3 separate regions of the Homo sapiens genome follow, and all the other regions are linked to region 3. The links are contacts of gene promoters, found by promoter capture Hi-C in blood cells and fetal thymus (Javierre and others, 2016). All regions are on one chromosome and are shown on one strand. Each heading gives the region's core, a stretch centred on a gene start or on the middle of the fragment in contact. The rest is flanking DNA. Distances are from core to core; before and after follow the strand shown.

Evidence for each region. Contacts are between HindIII fragments. The CHiCAGO score rates a contact against its expected background, and 5 or more counts as called.
Region 1: a contact is called between a fragment that was not itself captured here and the fragment with the promoter of MMRN2 in region 3, in 1 of 17 cell types (M0 macrophages). The highest score is 5.8, in M0 macrophages.
Region 2: a fragment that was not itself captured here is called in contact with the fragment with the promoter of MMRN2 in region 3 in 4 of 17 cell types (naive CD4 T cells, non-activated CD4 T cells, total CD8 T cells and 1 more); the score reaches 5.9 in naive CD4 T cells.

What each region holds. Positions count from the first base shown.
Region 1 is chr10:87,086,925-87,090,229 of GRCh38, reverse strand. All of the region lies in intron 1 of GLUD1 (glutamate dehydrogenase 1), which reads left to right. Among named protein-coding and RNA genes, the nearest start is that of GLUD1, 6.3 kb to the left of the region's middle. The HindIII fragment of the contact is 6,569 bases long and covers 1-3,305 here.
Region 2 is chr10:86,758,727-86,762,338 of GRCh38, reverse strand. All of the region lies in intron 1 of BMPR1A (bone morphogenetic protein receptor type 1A), which reads right to left. Among named protein-coding and RNA genes, the nearest start is that of BMPR1A, 3.9 kb to the right of the region's middle. The HindIII fragment of the contact is 3,501 bases long and covers 236-3,612 here.
Region 3 is chr10:86,956,273-86,959,622 of GRCh38, reverse strand. MMRN2 (multimerin 2) reads left to right here and starts at 2,008. Exons shown (of 7, transcript NM_024756.3): 1 at 2,008-2,245. The coding sequence starts at 2,082. It overlaps SNCG (synuclein gamma), which reads right to left and starts at 1,024. Exons shown (of 5, transcript NM_003087.3): 1 at 805-1,024. The coding sequence starts at 925. RefSeq lists an enhancer at 135-734. The HindIII fragment of the contact is 12,184 bases long and covers 1-3,350 here.

The DNA.
Region 1 (3,305 bases), core at 196-2,695, 130 kb before region 3:
ATTCAGAGTGCTTAGGAAAATCGGTTTTTATTTACTTATGTTAAAAATACTAAGGGTTCTGTAACCATTAAAAACTAAAATACTAACCTGTAGATGTTGAAAAAATCCTAGACACTAGTCTCTGCCACGTGACTGTTCTTCTTTTCTATTTATTTTACCCAATAATTAGGCTTTTACAATGTAAGTAATAAAGAGAAAAATCTCTAGTATCACTTTAGAGCACATTGATTCATAAATAGCCCATAAATTTTGTACTCAGCAACCCATAAAATACACATGCATGATTCACATAATCAAATAGTAACGAAAGTTACAAAATGAAAAGTGAAGCAGCTCTACCCCAAGTCCTTCCCCCAATATAACCATGAACAGTCTTAAATCTAATGCCGCTGTCTAAAACTGACTAGTTATTCAAATGAATCAATATTTTCCCCTTTCCAGAGGCAGAAATTAATACAGATTCAAGTGTTCACTATCAAGTCGGAATTGTTAATATGTGAAATACTACTGTTAAAGGCAGGAAAGGCTTTATTAAGGACAAGAAGACAAACTAGGAGAAGGAGCTACTCAAGACCTTCCGATTATCTTTACAAAAAGGCAACTACACCTAGAAGATTCTGCAGCCACACACATTCTGCCTTCACTTGAGGTCAACTGCCTTCACCAAGGTCAGATATTAGCAAAGGCTAACATTTATTCAGCTCTGTGTGTGCCAGGCATTTTATTAAGAACTTTTCATGCATCATCAGTTCTATGCCTTATAGCAACAATGCATGTAAGAACTTTTCATGTATCATTGCTTTTATGCCTCATGCAATACACTGTTGTCCCTGATTTCCAAATGTGGCTACTAAGGTTGAGGAGTGAAGTGTCCTTTGGCAGGGTGACACAGCTAGTACGTAGTGGAGTTGAGGTTCAGATTCTGGGCATCTGATTCCAGCACCCACCTTAATCATTGTTGTCTGGGATTTATTTATGCAAAAAGTTACAAATTGTATCTTAGGCTTTTAATTGTAAGCGCTGATTGAGAACCACTTCATGCCATTGACACAATGCTTCCTAATACTTTGGATCATAGATACCTTTGAAATTTCTGTTAAAAGCTATTAGAAGACCTACCTTCTTCCTAGAAAAATACATATTCAAACAGCTTTGCATATAAAACTCAGCATAGATGATATCTCTAGAGGTCCATTTATTCTAATTGCTAAGGAAATGAAATAACCTTTTTCCCCTACACCCAACTCCGAAGACCTGAAATAACATTTTAAACAGTTTTCCATCAAAAGAGGTTTGAAGACTTTGGTGTTTAAGAGATTAATGTGTTAGCCAGAACAACTCATTTCTCTACCAGTGTGTAGTCCATTTATCTTTAAAGATTTTCTATTGAATAATTTTGAAATTACTTTCTTAGTTTTCTTCATTAAAAACTAAGAAAATGCTTTGTTTATTATGAATTGCTATTTCTCTTGATTATTATTCTTGGAGAAAGTCTATCAGACGTAATTCTTCTGATTTGCTTCTAGGCTAGAGGAAAATGTGAAAGATGACAAATGAAAATTTCAAAGGTTGTCAGTAGTATGACTTCTTTTATCGTTTGTCATTATCACAAATATATCAACATAGGACTTTTAAAAGATATTTTGTACATATTGGGCCTTAGTAGGATTTTGCATGAATTTTTTTTTTCTTTTATGCCAAGAGAGAAAGAGCAAAGAAATAACCAAGGGTGATGTACTCGTATTGAAGGTTTACCAAATAAGGACTGCTTTTATTATGAACTATAGTCTATATTCTAAGTAAATCAATTTTTCTATTATGTGTTTTTTGTTCCTGCAGGCAAGATCTCTGAACTTTATGCAGAGGGTTCTTTTAAAAAAACAAAGTTGAATTTTTTTATTTCTTGGAATATTTTTTTTCATTGATTTCTCCCAAGTAGAGCAGATTCAAATCTCCTTTGTACCCTATGTCTTTTTTGTTTTGCTATAAGCTCAGTATTCCATTTCTACATTTTCCTTTCCTAGAACCAGTCAATAAATGACAAAAAAAAAAACAAAACAAAGTAAATCATGTGTTGTTGCAGTAGGAGTTCAAGGAAACCAAGGACAATCTTGTTTGTTTATTTGTTTTTTTGTTTGTTTTTTTTTTGAAACAGAGTTTTGCTCTTGTTGCCCAGGCTGGCATACAGTGGCGCGATCTTGGCTCACTACAACCTCTGCTTACCAGGTTCAAGCAATTTTCCTGCCTCAGCCTACCAAGTAGCTGGGATTACAGGCATGCACCACCTCACCTAGCTGATTTTTGTATATTTAGTAGAGACAGGGTTTTGCCATGTTGGTCAGGCTGGTCTCGAACTCCCGACCTCATGTGATCAGCCCACCTCGGCCTCCTAAAGTGCTGGGATTACAGGCGTGAGCCACCGTGCCTGGCAGACAGACAGTCTTGATGTGGGAACAGAGAAGGCTGGATAGGAGTTGGATAAGGCCATTTCAGATAAAGAGGGGGTGGCTTCACCCAAGGCAGGAAGTGGAACTGTGTGTAAGGGGGTCATGAGGACAAACTACATTTGTAAATAATGAGAAATAAGGGCTTGTGACAGTAAATATATTTGGTCTCTTTGCCTGGTTCCCAACACAGAGCTCCTGAATGTCGCAAATTCCTGAGTGATAGGAGCATCTTTTGTTCTAACTAGGACACTCTTAATGGGCTTCTGGGTAGCTTCAAGGTGGGGACTAGTCACCAAAAAGACCAAGCCATAATTAGAAATTTGGAACTTTCAGTCCCACCCTTTGACCTCTGGAGATTGGAAAGGGGCTGAAGATTGAGTTTAATCAGCAATCAGTCATGCCCTCATAATGGAACCTCTATACAAACCCTAACTGATGGCTGGAGTATGGGGAGAGTTCAGAGAGCTTCCAGGTTGGTGAATGCATCCATGTATGGGTAGGGTGGTACCCTCCAAATTCCAGGGGAACAGAAGCTCCTGCAGTGGGGACATTCCAGACATGGCCCTGTGTACCTCTTCATGTTGCTGTTGATTTGTATCCTTTACATAAGTAACGTTTCCCTGAGTCCTGTGAGCCTTTATAACATTATTGAACCTGAGGAGGGGGCCATGGGAACCCCCTGGTTGGTAGCCAAGTTGGACAGAAGTGTGGGTGCCCTGGGCACCCAAGACTTGGAACTGGCATCTGAAGTAGGGAACAGTCTTGTGCGACTGAGCCCTTGAGCTGTGGGGTCTGTGCTAACCCTGGTAGTCAGTGTCATAACTGAATTGCAGGACACCCAGTTTGTATCTGCAGAGA
Region 2 (3,612 bases), core at 737-3,236, 200 kb after region 3:
TCTTTGCTAGACCATACAAGGAGTTCTCGATACGAGGTCTATAACCTATAACCTGTAATTCTATAACCTATAACCTATGTCTTCCTCTGCCAGATATATGCACCTGCCTGAAATGAGACCACAAAAGTGAAGAACAGAAAAGACAACCTCAATTAATTATATCATTTGAGCACTTAGGTCCAGCCATGTCTATTTCTAGACCTTTCAATATCATGGGGGTTAGTGGGGAGAAGCTTTTCCCTCCTTTAAGCTAACTTGAGTTAGGGCTGTCACTTGTAAGCAAGAGTCACTTGAGAGAGCCACCCAATTCCCACTGTTGGAATATAAAATCTATACAGCAATGACTCCCAAATGCCTACCTCCAGCACAAACCTCTGTCAAACCCCAGACCCATATAGACAACTGCCAAGTGGAAATCCCTACTTGGCTGTTTCAGATATCTCAAACTCCATGTGATCCAATACTATTTTCTTCTACAAACCAGCTCTCCCACCTCATTTTTCATATCTGTCACCCACATCTACCCTGCTTTCCAAGCTAGAAATCCAGGAGTTGTTCTTGCCAATCCCATTCCTTCTCTCATCCACGCTAGTTATCGCCTCCTATCCATTCCAGGCCCTAATTATCTGCCACCATCTTAACCCATTTATGCCTGAGGCTGCAATTTTTTGAATTTTTGCAATCAGACCTTGGTGATGACCTTGAGCAGGATATAAATAACTCCCACGTGCTTAGCGTTCCAATAGTGGAACACTAGGCATAAATGGGTTTAATCCGGGCTAGGCCAGAAAGACCTTCCTACAAGTTTGAACATCTTCAGTCTTCCTTTCTTCAAAATGATTTTCCAACATGTAACTAATCTCCCTAACTGCAAATGTGATTATAATATTTTATCCCTATCTCTAGCATACTCCTGTCCTCCTTCATAAGTCAACAGCCAATTATATACAGCTGGATCAAGAGCCAAGCTCCACTGTTCCAGACTTTAACAGTATAACAAATCTGTGCCATAAGAAAGGAAGGCTCATCAGAAATATAAAACTATAAAAGAGTAACAAAGTCTACAACATCAGAGTAAATAAAAGATACTCAAAGATAATTTACTCATCTATTCAATGTCTACTCATTAGTTATATATTAAACTGCCCATACGAACTGGCTTAGGGACCACAGGGGCCACCCTGAGATGGAGTCTACTGATCATCTGATCTCCCTATGCCCCTAACTAGTGTTCTTTTCAAAAAACACTACTGGGGATTTCCAGGCACATCCAAGAGCTTTGATTAGGGAGAGAAACACTATTCATCAATTCTAAGATGCATCCATTTTTCATATTTTAGCATCTCCGGAATTGGGGTGCACCTTACAATCAATGGCTTCTTACAACTAGAAGCATATTTTAAGTGGTCTGTAACACTACTGTGTATCTTACAATGGACATAACTCAATGCAAGTCAACATTTAATCTTGTGTTAAAAAGTTGGTCCAACTTGGTCAATATGGACCTTGTGATGTTAAAAAGACATCCTAAAGCCTAAAAACTAGTAAAAGGTGGGAAAGTAGAAAAGGAAAAGAAATGGTTCCTACTTCAAAATTTAGTGTGATAGGAAACCCATTTTCCTTTCTCTCCATGGTTCGCTGCTCCTAAGATCCAATAGTCAGATCAGGACAGTTCAACAGCTACTGTTAGGCTAGACAGGAGCCTTTCCCCATTTATTCCTTTTAATATGCAAGAAAAGTCCGTTACAGACCCACCCTGCAAACTAGTAGTGAAACTAATATTTGTATAAAAACTGCTATAAAGGCCAGCCACAGTGCCTCACCTGTGTAACCCCAGCACAGGGAGGCTGAGGCGAGCGGATCAACTGAGGTCAGGAGTTTAAGACCAGCCTGGCCAACATGGCAAAACCCCACCTCTACTAAAAATACAAAAATTAGCCAGGCGTGGTCCCAGCTACCTGGGAGGCTGAGGCAGGAGAATCCCTTGAACCCAGGAGGCAGAGGTTGCAATGAGCTGAGCTCACGCCATTGCACTCCAGCCCAGGCGACAGTGCGAGACTCTGTATCAAAAAAAAAAAAAAAAAAAAAAAGAAAGAAAGAAAGAAAGAAAGAAAAAACAATAAGGTATTAAAAAAAAAAAAAAAAAAAAACAGGTAAATCTGAGGCAAATACCACAGAAAATATTTCATTTAATGGAAGACCTAGGAAACTTCTGAGTGGCGAAGTGGTAAGAACTGGGCTTACAGATTAATTTAGGCAGAAATACATAAGATTAGATAAAGGAGAAAAGTGAAGGCAAGAAAATCATAACATTAGTCCAGGTGGGATGAGAACTTGATTTAGAGTTAGGGGGTGGGGGTGGAGTCGCGGGGTGGTGGGGGGAGAACTACGTGAAAGCCAAATAACACTAGATTTGAAAATAAATTCCTGAAAAAAATGTGAAACATTAAAATTCATATGAGAATCAGAAAATCGACACAAACCAACAGCTATTAAAGAAATTGAAGTGTTACTCAAAGTCCTCTCCAGAAAAAAGATCTAGGCCTAAATGGTCACATAGGGGAGGTCTTCCAAACTTTCAAGGAACAGATAATCCCAGTCTAAAATGATCCTGAAAAAGAGAAAAAGAAGGAAAGCTGCCCAACTCGTTTTATGATTTGACTACTACCTTCACACCAATATGAATTCAGAATTGCCCCACAGTTAGCAAGAATAGAGAGCAGAAGAGTTACAATATCATAAAGCAGAATCAACAGATGTTGGCTACAGACAAGATATGATGAAATGGGAAAAGGTTTGGGTTTGGTATGACATCAACAAAAATAAAGAACACCAAAGAGGCAAGTTTGCTAAGGAAAAGCAGCTCAGAACAATCAGGTACAGATATGTAGAAAGCAACTGAATAAAAAAGAAAAAACAAAACAAACAAACAAAAAAACGTGATTCAGAAGACACATAAACAAAGAATTGAGAATTATTCCAACAGAAAGGTCTGAACAATCATTCTAAGGGACTAGAGACATAGAGAAAAGTGATCTGAAAAGTGAAACTTGGAGAACGCATATTAAAGAGGAAAGAAGAAACAGAAGGCAGAAAAGTGGCGGAGAGGAACAAAGTCAGTATAATGTCACAAAAGGCCCCTCTTCATCTAGTTAATAGTTAACTCTTGCTCATCCTTCACAATCTGCCTGGGTTCCAACAAAGCAATTTTAAGGTATCTTTCCCAGATTCTCCCACCACCACAAGCACCAGATCAGGTCTCCATTTGAAGTTCTTATAATATTCTGCACCTTAATTAAAATCACAATTATATTTAACTAGAGACTTTATTTTTCAATAAGTATTTCCCCACTAGACTTTAAGCTCCATGAGGGAAGGATCTGTTGTATCTTACTGCCTTGGACCCTGTGTTAGAATACAGCGAGTATAGATGAATGAAACCCAAGGAGAGGCATCTGAAAATGTGAAGTCGATGTTAAATCTTACAGAAAACTCAAGGAGAGGACTTAGAAAAAGGTAGTTAAATGTGTTGATTAGGTTATAGTTCCTTGTGAAGGTGAAATCCAGATAACAAGGGGTTAAGAAATGAGTGGCTAGCCACCAACCAGGCAA
Region 3 (3,350 bases), core at 759-3,258:
AATGGAGCTGTCAGCCCAGACCTCCCTCGAGGTGTTGGGGGCGGTCAGGACAAACACAACAGAACAGCTGGACAAACTGTGGGGTCGGTGGGGGGGTAAGGATGGTGTCTGGGGGCCGGCGGCCCCTTCAGAGGGCCTCTTCCTGCTGTGTCTGGAAGAAGTGGATGGATGGGAAGGGGACAGGACAGAATGTGGGGGACAAGAGAGAGCAGGCCTGAGGTAGGGACACTGGCTAGACCCAGGGTCCAGCCCCTGCCCGGGTGTGGCCGGGCCTCAGAAGCAGCAACAGGACAGGATGGGCCAGAGCTGAGTCATTGGCTTGACCTCCCCTTCCTCCTCTGGAGAGTGCCAGGAGAGGATGCGGGGGAGGGAACACTGAGCCTAGGTTTCATCCCCCAGCCTGCCCCTTCTCTCTGGGGAGGGAGGGGATCCGTGACCTGGCTGTAGCCGCTCCCGTGTGGAGAGGGTGGGGGCCACCTGAGCACAGGCTGCTCATGGCTTCAGGGGCTCCAGGCTCAGGGGAGGCTGGTATGCTTGGGAATGTGTGTGTGCGTGCACAGACAGGTAGCCAGCCCTGTCTGCGGTCTCTGACACCCAGAGGCCCCGAGGAGGCCAAAGACAAACACACATAGGTGTGCACAGGGCATTGTGGGTGCTCCAGGGTCTGGAGACCCCACCTTGATAGCCAGGGCCTCGCCCCCTCCCAAAATGCCTCCCTGGGGCTGGGGAGTAAGGTCTGGCGAAGGTAACTGGGCACTCACCCTTTGGCCACCACACTGTCCCACCCTGCCATGCCCCACTTACCCACATACATGACCCCCTCCTTGGTCTTCTCAGCTGCTTCCGTCACCCCCTGCTTGGTCTTTTCCACCGCACCCACCACGCCCTCCTTGGCGATGGAGAAGCCCTTCTTGAAGACATCCATGGTGGGTGTGCAGGGTTGTGCTGCTGCAGGCAGGACGGAGCTGGATCTCCCTGCGAGCTGCGGGCTTGAGCTGGCTCGAGTGCTGCCGCAGCGGCTGTCCCCGATGCCTCCTATTGACGCCGATGAAATATTGATGCGGAGGCCAGCTGGAGCCCAGCCAGCCCTGCGTGCAGTGGGGGCGGGGAGGGAGGGAGGGAGGGAAGGAGGTTCAGCCTCACCTTCCTCCAGGATAGGAAGGCAGAGACCAGGCTCCCTGGGCTCCTGCTGGCTCAGCCCAGCTCTCCTGCCCCGTGCCCTCCATGGGCTGGAGGGGGCTGGCCACCTCCCAACCTGTCCCTCATTCATTTACTGCCCTGCCCACCCATGGGGGCAGCCCTGGCTGGGTGCTCTTGGCCCCAGGGGTGCTGTGTCTATGCTGCACCTGGACAGACAGGCACAGAGAGGGGAGGCGCCTTGGCCATTGTCCCCAGCTTCCTAGGTAGGGGTCAGGGCCACATAGGCCTGTTAGGTGAGAGCAGCCAACCTCCCGCGGCCTGGGCTGTGCAGCTACCCACCAGCATCCTGGATGCCGCTGGACCCTGGGCTGCCATGAAACCGGTTGGAGGATCTGAGGTGGGTGGGGGTGGGGAAATGAAGGACTTCCTCATGCCTTGGCCTCTGGCTGCATGCTGTGTGACCCCAGAATAGTCCCTTCCCTTCTTTGAGCCGCCCAGTGCTGAAGGTGCTGAGGAGGCATGAATTGCCCCCCATTTCCTGGCCAGCAGTGTGGATGGGCAGCAGGTCCCCTGAGATGGACCTGACCACTTCCTGTGGCCCCACCTCGAAGTCCACGCTCTTTTCATGGCTCCCAGGGAGCAGGTTCCCATAAGGATGCATTTGGTGGGGCCACCCCATGTCTACCACATTCCCAGAGTCCCTGAGCCAAGTCCTCAGGGACAGGAACTGGCTTGTGTGGTTGGCGGCCCCTGTGGGGCCAGCCAGGGTAGTTGGGGGGCAGGACAAGACCCACCGGGTAGGCCGGCCCAGGCCACTTCCTCTCTTTGTTGTCCTCGTATTTTCTTTTCCTCCTGAGATTTAACTTGAAGACAACGTCACTAGCAGTTTCTGGAGCTACTTGCCAAGGCTGAGTGTGAGCTGAGCCTGCCCCACCACCAAGATGATCCTGAGCTTGCTGTTCAGCCTTGGGGGCCCCCTGGGCTGGGGGCTGCTGGGGGCATGGGCCCAGGCTTCCAGTACTAGCCTCTCTGATCTGCAGAGCTCCAGGACACCTGGGGTCTGGAAGGCAGAGGCTGAGGACACCGGCAAGGACCCCGTAGGACGGTAAGAGGGCCTGGACCTTGGCAGAGGTCATGGAGTAGGATCTGAGTCCCAGCTCAGCTAGAGCAGAGCCTCTCTAGACCTCACTGGGGTCCCATCTGTGAAATGGGCTAATAGTATCTATCTCTGGGCCATCTGTGAGGCTGAAAAAGTAGTCTGGACTGGGTGTTTCAGGATCCACCTAAGAATTGCAGGGAGTTCCCTGTCGGAGCCATGGCAGGGAATGGGGCTTGGGGGGCTGGCAGGGAGGCACAGCTCCTACCATCAATCACCCAGCATGGGGCACTGGGGGACTGTGGCTGAAGCCATTGCCAGCTGGCCTGGCTATGCCTCCTGTTCTTCCAAAGAAATCAATTCTGAAAGCTGAGACCCAGCAAGGCTGCCCTGAGATTTTGATCTGAGTTCCCTGGGGACCTGACTCTGACTGCCCAGCAGTGAGCAGAGACGGCCCCCTGCTCTCCAGAGCACAGTCCAGGGCGCTCTGCCTCAGCGACCCAGCAAGTGGGCAGGATGGTCTTGCAACTGGACCCAGAACATAGCTTTCCAACATTCTATGTGTACAGAGCCAGGGCCCATCCTGCTGATGAGGTGTTGGGCCTGTAAGTCCCCCCTCATCTCCAACTGCCCCTCAGTCAGAGCAGCAGGTGCTGTTTACGGGGCCCCCAGTCTCAGGGCCAGGCACCTTGCCACGTGTATCTCAGTTCATCCCTCCAACAGCCCCACTTACAGAGGAGGAGCCTGAGGCTCAGAGAGGCTGAGGGGCTTGCCCAAGGCCACACAGCTAAGGAGCAGGATCTGAGTTTGACTTCAGAGCTCATAGTGAACTCTCTGCAGCACTTGGAGCCAGCCCCAGCCCCCAGATGCTCCTACCTCCACCCTCCTGCCCCCACACACCAGACCTGTTTGGCTAAGGGCATCTACATGGATTTAGGGAGTGAGGGGGGGGCCAACTTACACTTCTGTGCGGTGTATGAGAGCCACCATCGCAGAGCGGACCTGCCTGGGATAGGTCTCATTTGGCTTCTGAGTTGCAGGTTTGTTGGGTGCTTTCCTGAAAACAGATTTGACCAGGGAGGGGCAAGAGGCCCCTTAGTGAGGGTCTGGTGGC